Regions from separate parts of the Homo sapiens genome. Here region 1 is linked to region 2. The links are contacts of gene promoters, found by promoter capture Hi-C in human tissues and cell types (Jung and others, 2019). All regions are on one chromosome and are shown on one strand. The core of a region is centred on a gene start or on the middle of the fragment in contact, and the rest is flanking DNA. Distances in the headings are between cores, read along the strand shown.

The links. The method cuts DNA at HindIII sites, captures the fragments that hold promoters and counts their contacts. A contact is called where the count stands out against the background at its distance.
Region 1: a contact is called between the fragment with the promoter of CASP9 here and the fragment with the promoter of PDPN in region 2, in 1 of the 25 tissues and cell types used here (neural progenitor cells).

The regions. Positions count from the first base shown.
Region 1 is chr1:15,521,998-15,526,464 of GRCh38, forward strand. It overlaps CASP9 (caspase 9), which reads right to left and starts at 2,218. Exons shown (of 9, transcript NM_001229.5): 1 at 2,072-2,218. The coding sequence starts at 2,203. RefSeq lists silencers at 2,188-2,577, 2,858-3,297. The HindIII fragment of the contact is 36,637 bases long and covers 1-4,467 here.
Region 2 is chr1:13,582,205-13,586,220 of GRCh38, forward strand. PDPN (podoplanin) reads left to right here and starts at 1,628. Exons shown (of 6, transcript NM_006474.5): 1 at 1,628-1,896. The coding sequence starts at 1,830. RefSeq lists an enhancer at 1,531-2,069. The HindIII fragment of the contact is 13,144 bases long and covers 1-4,016 here.

The DNA.
Region 1 (4,467 bases), core at 968-3,467, 1.9 Mb after region 2:
CAGTTGGCTACATGCAAATAGATGGTGGTGTTTAGGTTTCTCTCCACATTTGCTGAACACTCCAGGAGGTCAACACTGTGTTAAATGCATTGTTTCATCTTTTTCTCCCTCAATAACTTTATAGAGTTAAATTAGAACTTCCCAACTTTTTAGGGTAAAAAATTTCAGGGAAACTGAGTCATAGGGTTTTTCTGTTTGTTTGGCTCATTGGTTGTGGTTTTTTACAACTTGCTAATATGTAACAAGGCCAGGATGAGAGCCCAGATCCAACTGGTTCCAAAACCTGCCTGTTTTTCAGCCATACTGAATGGCAAAATGGCAACCTGTGGTTCCCACAAGGTTCTTAAAAAATTTCTGAATTTGTTGCTAACATTTTAAGCCAGGGAATTTGACAGAGGAATCAAGATTTTCAGCTTCTTTTTTAAGATGTGAAAGCTGGGCCGGGTACAGTGGCTCACACCTGTAATCCCAACACTGAGGCAGGAGAATCACTTGAGGCCAAGAGTTTGAGACTCATCTAGGCAACATAGCAAGACTCCTATCTGTACAAAAAAAAAATTTTTTTTAATTAGCCAGGCATGGTGGCATGTGCCTAAAGTCCCAGCTGCTCTAAAGGCTGAGGCAGGAAGACCACTTAAGCCCAGGAGGTCAAGGTCGCAGTGAGCCATGATCTCATCCCTGCACTCCAGGCTGGGCAAGAGTGAGACCCTGCCTCAAAATAAGTGTAAGATGTGGCAATACTGGGCCATTTGTTGATATGGCCATACTCAGCTGGAGACGGAGGGCAGTGCAAAGGCTATCCACTATGACGCCCATCCATTGGTCCTCCATGGGCATTTGAGTTTGTGATCCCCGTGAACATTCCTGAAGGCAAGGACTGTGGCCTCAAACCATTACTGTTCCCCAGTAGGGGCCACACAGAAGGCACAAAACTTATTTTATTATTAATGAATAATTACTCATATGATACTCAATTATTTAAAGACTCTTTCCCTGGGCCAGGGCACTGGCCAGGGATATCCAGCCAGCCACTCACACCTACTGCACCTCATGGTAGGAAATATCTCCTGCATCCTCACAGGCCTGTGATGAGGGTCAAATGAGACAAAGATGGGAAAGTGCTTTTAAACAAAACCTCAAATGTTTGACTTCATTATTCTCCATTCTGCATCAGGTCCCCTCATTTCCAAAACCTCTTAACAAAACATAAACTGAACACAGAAGGGGCTGGCCAAAGAGGGCAGGGTACGCTGATCCCCCGCTCTGTGCCTAGCACTACAGTTTCACATCCGTTATTTCATTTAGTCCTTATGACAGTATTATTCTTATTCCCATTTCACAGCCCAGAAACTGTGGCTCAAAGAGGGTAAGTGACTGGCCCAAGAACACGCTGCCAGGCAGCCTGATGCCAAAGTGGGTTCCCGAAACCTCTATGCTAGAAAAGTAAAAACGCACACGCCTCCTTCCTCGCAAGTATTAACGTAAATTAAAATGGAGACCAACCATGAAGAATTCCTGAGCAGACAAAACCAATCAGGTATCCTAAGTGACCTAAATCTTGCTTAAACTGCAAACATAAGCAAAATTTAACTTGGGTCATATCTGATAAATGCTTATGTTAGAGAGAAATAAAACTTAAGACCAGCCAAAAGCAGTCAATTAACAGACCTTAAAAAAAAAAGGCAATTTTGTAACTGCAAACCAATCAAATAATTTCTTTATTTTGCTTCCACATTTTCCCAATAAATACTTGCCTCTGACGTTTTGTCATTGCAACACTAAAGCTCTTTCAGTCTGATGTTCTCCAATTCATGAATTGTTTCTTATTCAAAGTTCTCAAGATGTGTCTCACATTTTTCCTTTACACAAGAAACACAAGCACTAACAGTGTACGCTGACTGAGTATGGCATGGAATCGCTTTAGCGAACACCCGACTAAGAGGTGTTTGGGATTCTTTGGCTCCGCTGAGGGGTTTGAAGCCACAGGGAAGGCTAGGCTCCCGCACAACGCCTCCTCGAGGGGCGTGGGGACCCGGCCGTGCAGCGCGGGGACAGGGGGCCGGGGGCGCACCTGGATGTCCTCGATCATATGGGGCCTGAACAGCTCGCGGCTCAGCAGGGCGTCCCAGAGCTGGTCCACCTGCAGCTCTTCCACCAGCCGCAGCCGGCACCGCCGCAGGAGCCGCCGATCCGCTTCGTCCATGGCGAGTAGCCAACTAAGACTCCAGGCCGCCTCAGTCCGCTTCCGGGCCTCGGCCGCCCGCCCCAGTCCCCAGGACCCGCCCCCGCCCCAGGGCCTGCCCCCGCGTCACGGCCCCGGGTCAGTCTTCGCTCCCCACCGCCTCCGGACGCATCTCCAAGGCCTCGCCCCGCCCCCAGGAGTCGCTCTTGCGTCACCGCCCCGCCCTCAGGACGCACCTCTGCGCCTCGCCCCGCCCCCAGGGCCAAGCCTCCCATCACCGCGCCGCCCCAGAACACGCTCCGCGTCACCGCCCCGCCCCAGAACCCGCCCCACGTCACCGCCCCGCTCCAGAATCCACCACTGCGTCCCCGCCCCAGAACCCGCCCCGTATCCCCGCACTGACCTCACGTCACCGCCCCGCCCCCGCGTTACCGTCCCGCCCGCAGGACGCATCTCCAACGCCTCGCCCCGCCCCAAGGATTCGCTCTTGCGTCACCGCCTCGCCTTCAGGACGCCTCCGCGCCTCGCCCTGTCCCCAGGGTCAATTCTGGGGTCACCGCCTGTCCCCAGAACCTGCCACCGCGTCACCGCCCACTCCCCGGGACGCATCTAGAAGGTCTCGCCCCGCCCCCAGGATTCGCTCTGCGTCATCGCCCCGCCCTCAGGACGCACCTCAGCGCCTCGCGCCGACCCCAGAATCCATTCCGCGCCACCGCCCCGCCCCCAGGATTCAACCCACGCCCCCACCCCGCCCCCAAGGTCAATCTTGCGCCACCGCCCCGCCCCCAAGGGCTAGCCTCGTGCCACCGCCCCGCCTCCAAGAGCCAATCCCCTCCCCTCGCTCCACCCTCAGAATCGTCCTTGCGTCACCGCTCAGCCTCAGACTCCAGTTCGCACTCTCGCCCCGCCCCCAAAGTCAATCCTCACCCCCAGGATCCATCCTTCTGTCACCGCCCCGCCCCAAGGCGGCACCTCCGCGACTCGCCCCGCCCCCAGGGCCCCGCCCCGCCCCCGCATCACCTCCCCACTCCGGGCGCAGGTGCCCTTTTGCAATTCTGGCACCAGTTCCTGGTCCACCGCGGGCCCTTCGCCAGAATTCACTATAGCCCCGCTTTTACAGAGATCCGGAGGGAGTCGTCACACTTCCAGCAAGAGGGAAACCATGAGTGGAGCCGTGATCTGTCCCGCCCATTCAACCTCCTCCGGGGCATGGCTTCCCCTTAGCCCCCTCCTCCACCCCAAGTAAAACCATAAGCTCCCCTCACCGCCCTTGTGCCCAGATCGCAGTTGACTGTTCCAAACTCGAGTGTCTGATCCAACCAAGCCCACCTTACACAGTCTTCCATTCCCTCTTCCCTCCCTCCCACCCTAACACCTCCCACACAGAAAAAAAAAAAAACGGCAGAAATCTAGTCCTGTAAACTCCCATCGTTCTGAACGGTTCATTTTCACATTTCAAAAATAATCGTTTCTGTTTACTGAGCATTTGCTAAGTCCCAGGCATCGTGCTAGCCACTTTTCATGCTTATTTCACTTATCCTTAACTACAATCCTGCCAGGAAAGTATTCCCACCCCCCGCCGGTTTTACAGATGTAGACCCTAGGGTTCAGGGAAACGAATGTTTAAGGTCACTTGGGTACTAAGTGGCCGAGGCAGGCAGGATTGAAACCCGAACCTGACTCTGTAAGCCACACTCTTAAGAATCCACCTTAGAATATAATCTCTTGAGCACCAAAACCTCAGCCCCATTCGTTCACTTCTACGAATATTTATTGAGCCTGTAGTCAAACACTAAGAACATGAAGGTGAACAAAACAAAATCCCTGCTTTTAGAGTTTACATTCCAGTGGAAGGATCAGGTGATAAACTATATCAATAAATAAGACATACTATGTTAGATAGTGATAAATGCAAAGAGAAAAAAATAAAAACAAGACAGGGAGATATGAAAGCTCTTTATATCCGCAAGGGATCTATCTCATTGGCTCAAAGAAAGTTTCCTTCACTTACCTGTGCCTTATCCCTCTCTCCACCCCCACCGCCCTTTCCCCGTGCTTAAGGCACAGACTGGTACATTCTTGGGTGGAGCTCGGTTTTCGGTAAACGGGATTAAAAGTCCTGGATTCTCTCAAAAAAAAAAAAGATAAGTAAACAAAAATAAAAGGAATGCTGGATTCTAGGCCTTGGGCAAATCTCTGCCCCTCTCTGGACCTCGGTCTCCCTATCAATATTGCAGGAGTTGGAGAGTTAAAGAATCCCTAAGGTCACTTCCAATCTGACGCTC
Region 2 (4,016 bases), core at 378-2,877:
ATCTTTTTGAATAAAGCGGGCCATCTTTCTTTCTGTGTGTGACCTTGGAGTTACACATAAGCAGAATAGATGTGCATCTATTCTCCATCTAACAGGCTCAACAGACAATGCACTATTCCTCCTGTCAACAGACATTATTGACACTAGAGTCATAAAATGCATCTCCAAGATGGGGAAGTCAGTTCAAGAAAGAGTATCTGTATCACGAGTTTTCTCTTTACATTTCCAACTCCTTGGCTCTAGGGGTGTTGCCGCTACCCCTCATCTTCTAGGTTCAGGTGCTCAGCTCCTGTTTGTAGCCCCAGGACAAGACGTTACCTGGGAGATCTTTAGAAATGCAGAATCTCTCCCTATCCCACAACAGAATTGCACCTGCATAACCAGTGCCCCAGGTAGATCTGGCTGAGAAGCTATGATGAAGGGCAAGGTTTGCCAAATGTTCATGGGGACAAGTTCTCCAGCGACACTGGTTTAAAATAGGAATTCCGAAAAGGTCTGATTAATGAGTTTGGGGTGGAACCCAGGAAACTGGGCATTTATTTAAAACAATCTCTCCTGTGATTCTTAGAAAGTAAATTTATAATGGGGAGGGGTCAAAGATAAGCATCTGAAAACAATTTTCACGCAATGTGGAGCTTTGAGACAGCGTTAGTCTTCAGGTTCTTTTGTTGAATGGAATTTGTGGCATCTGGGAGTGGAGCAGAGACCACTTCCCAAACTCCTGTTCTTATTTTTTTAAATTCCAGCAATTCAGAAGGAATTAAAGTAAAAGACGTAAGTTCTCTGGTTGCTGATATCTGGTACCTGAGATCAAGGCAAGATCGCTTAAACCAGTAAAGTGAGGATTATGGGAGCAAACTCAGGAATAAAGAGGGTGAACCAGGCCTGGAAGGGGACACAGGTTTGGCGACCAGACGGGTCACCGCTTGGCCCGGCCTAATCCAACTGCGCACGTCGGTGGGCCACAGCATCGCAGCGCTGGATCCCCGGGTCGGCAGAGGCGGATGGAGTTCAGCCTCTTTTTCAAAACTGCCAAAGCCACCCGGTCTGCCAAACTCCCCCACCAGCCAGCTCTGGGGCAGCCCCCCGGAGCCCGCCCGCTCCGGTCCCCGGGACAAGGGCGCAATTGACCAGCGCGGGCCGCCTCTGGCCCACCCAGATGACGGCCAACTTTTTTTGTTTTTAAGCCATCAAATTCAATATTTACAGGAAAAACCCCATGCTTGGTTCTAAAACTACTGGCCACTCAAGAAACAGTTTACTTCTCACTTCTGCCCATAACAAGAAAAACATAGACTTGTGCCTTACTCTTAAAAAAATAATAATAATAAATATAGGTTTTTTAAAATTTATATATAATTTTTAAAACCCCGTTTGTTGCATGTGGTCCCTTTCCCTCCTGTTGTTGAGCAGAATAAAAGCCCATTTTGCCAGGGCCCGCAGTCCTGGCGGCCCCCGCAGCTGCGGCCCTGTAACTTTAAACCTGGCCTGAGATCATCGTTTTGGCGCCGGCCAAACAGAGCCCGAGGGCGGGCCTAGCGCGCCCGGACGGAGACCACCTTGCGGCCGACCCCGCTCCCCCGCCTCCTCGGGAGAGATAAATGCTGACTCCGCTCGGAAAGTTCTCAACTGCAAAGTTTGCTGTCCGGCTGCCTAGGGTCTGGGAAGCTCGGGCACCCTCCCTCTCCGGGGCTCCTGCTCCCACCCCTCCGGCCCCCCCACCGTCGCGCTCCTCCAGGCTGGGCCTGTGGCCGCGGTGCTTTTTAATTTTCCCCCAGCTCAGAATCTTGCTGCTCGGCCCCCAGGAGAGCAACAACTCAACGGGAACGATGTGGAAGGTGTCAGCTCTGCTCTTCGTTTTGGGAAGCGCGTCGCTCTGGGTCCTGGCAGAAGGAGGTAAGACCCAGCGCAAGTGGCTTCCTGCCGTCGCTGATGGGGACGAGCGAGCAGAGACTTGCTGGAATGCCCGGGCCTGGTATTCGAGGTTGTCCAGGGGAGCGCGGGGGAGCTGAGGGTGTGTGCGTGTCAGGCGGCTGAGCGCCGGAGGAGGAGAGGCAGCGGCTTAGTCGGTGCCAGGTCCCAAAGACGCAGCTGCGCGGGTGTGCCGGGAGGAGCCCCGGAATCCACAGGCTGCGAGGTGGGCAGCACAGGGGGCCTCCCTCCGAGTCGGCAGCACCAGAGAGATCGGGTGGAAGGTTCACAGTAGGCAGCCCCGCTTGCTGGCAGCAGTGGCTGGGGTTTCCTTCCCATAGAGCGGTGTGTTGGAGGAATACGCACGCCTCGGGAGAAGCTGGCCTCGTAGAATCAGGAGGGACGTTCAGGAGGGCTTGGGCCAAGGGGAGGGTTCCCCGCCCTGCGGTGGCCCTGGTCCCCCTTGGGACTACCTAGTCTGGCGCCCTGCCTGTTGGACACACTCAGCACCCCGTCACTGGACTGGAAGAGGCCTCCTTTATCCTCTTTAGAGAGGATAGTGTGTGTGGAAAGGATCCAAGTGGAGGCTTCCGAGGAGTGTGAGTGCATGAGGATTGTTACGCGTTACGAACATTGAGGTTTAAGTGGGTTTGAGCCACGTGTTCATCTTGGGCAACAACATCAGTGGCTGAATGTCTGTTGGTGACTCCTTAGGCTTTAAATATTTTGTATCCCATGTTGGGGTGGGGGCGTCCACAGCTTCCATTACCCTTTGTCCTCTCCTGGAGCCTTACCTCTTCCCGCTGGGTTGCTGTGTTGGTGGTCTCCATTGACATCTGTCAACATTTTGTTTTCTTTTCTTGGGTTTTTATTTTTATATTTCCTCAATAGAACATATGTTCTGCAGGACGCAGCTACATCCAGCCATGATTCCCCACGGCCAAAACAATGCCTGGCACATAGTAGTTGCTCACTAAATGTTGGTTGAAGGAATTGTAACCTAACTCGTGATCTTTGGGGCTGGAGGTTGCTGAGTTATGCTGTGAAAAGTAAACATTTTCCAAAAATTGAGGATCAAGGTAGGCCTAGGCCCTGAGGAATACTTCTTGGAGAGGGAGCGGTTTGCAGGAGGGGTGCGCCTAACCTGGCCTCCTACAATGGTCCACACAGACAAAAATACCCAATCTCAGGGAAATGACAGAGTTCTGCTCTATGCTGTGCTGTCTGCTTCAAAGGGACTGAGCAACTCTTTTTATAGGGGCCGTGGGTTATTCGTAGCAGTCCTATCTTTGGAACTTCTCTTTCCACTGGAATATATACAGTTCTGTATTTTCAGTTACATTTCCTTTTTGGCGAGACAATGTGCAAATGACACCGTTTTGTGCTCACCAGGGCAAAGCAAGGGAGCGCCCTCACTTCAGCATCTCAGCCCTGCTAAAGAAAAAGCTGCTGGGTAACATCCTTTGTTTTTGCCCAGGGAAGCTTTAGCTGTGATTCCCTTCAGCCGGCTCCTGAATGTCAAAGGTACTCCTAAAAGATGGCGTTAAAACCGAAAAACCATCGTTGGTGCTGGAAACTCCACTACTAAAGAAAGAAGTGGTATGCGGGGCTGGCTGAGTGAGGGTGGGTGCTGAGTTGCCTGGCTGCCAGAGGAGCAGAGGCCCAGCAGGGTTTTTGTCTGAGAATAATGAGCGAGGCGACTTGAATATGGATGAATAACATCATTGAGCGAAGCTATTGTGGGCTTTTGTTGGGGAGCTGGGCTGGGGGGTAATTATGGTGATGAATTTTATGATCCTTTTCATAAGATCCTACGCCCTACTGGGTTTCCCTCCTCCAGGGTTATAATCTGGTTCAGTTTTATAATCTGGTCCCATGTGTCATCCCTTTGGGTGTTAGTGGATTCAAAGGAGGTCTGTTGTCCACACATCTGGCATTTTTTTCCATTGTCAGGCGCCACCCTCATGCTGAACTTTCATCAGGAAGGCACGTTTTGGGGGCCACTTCATTAGAGAGTTTATTTTGTGAGATTCTGCAAGCTGCTGCTCGCTGCTAACCCACATGTGCTTTTCCGGGACCAATCCACCCAGGATTAATCATGCGGC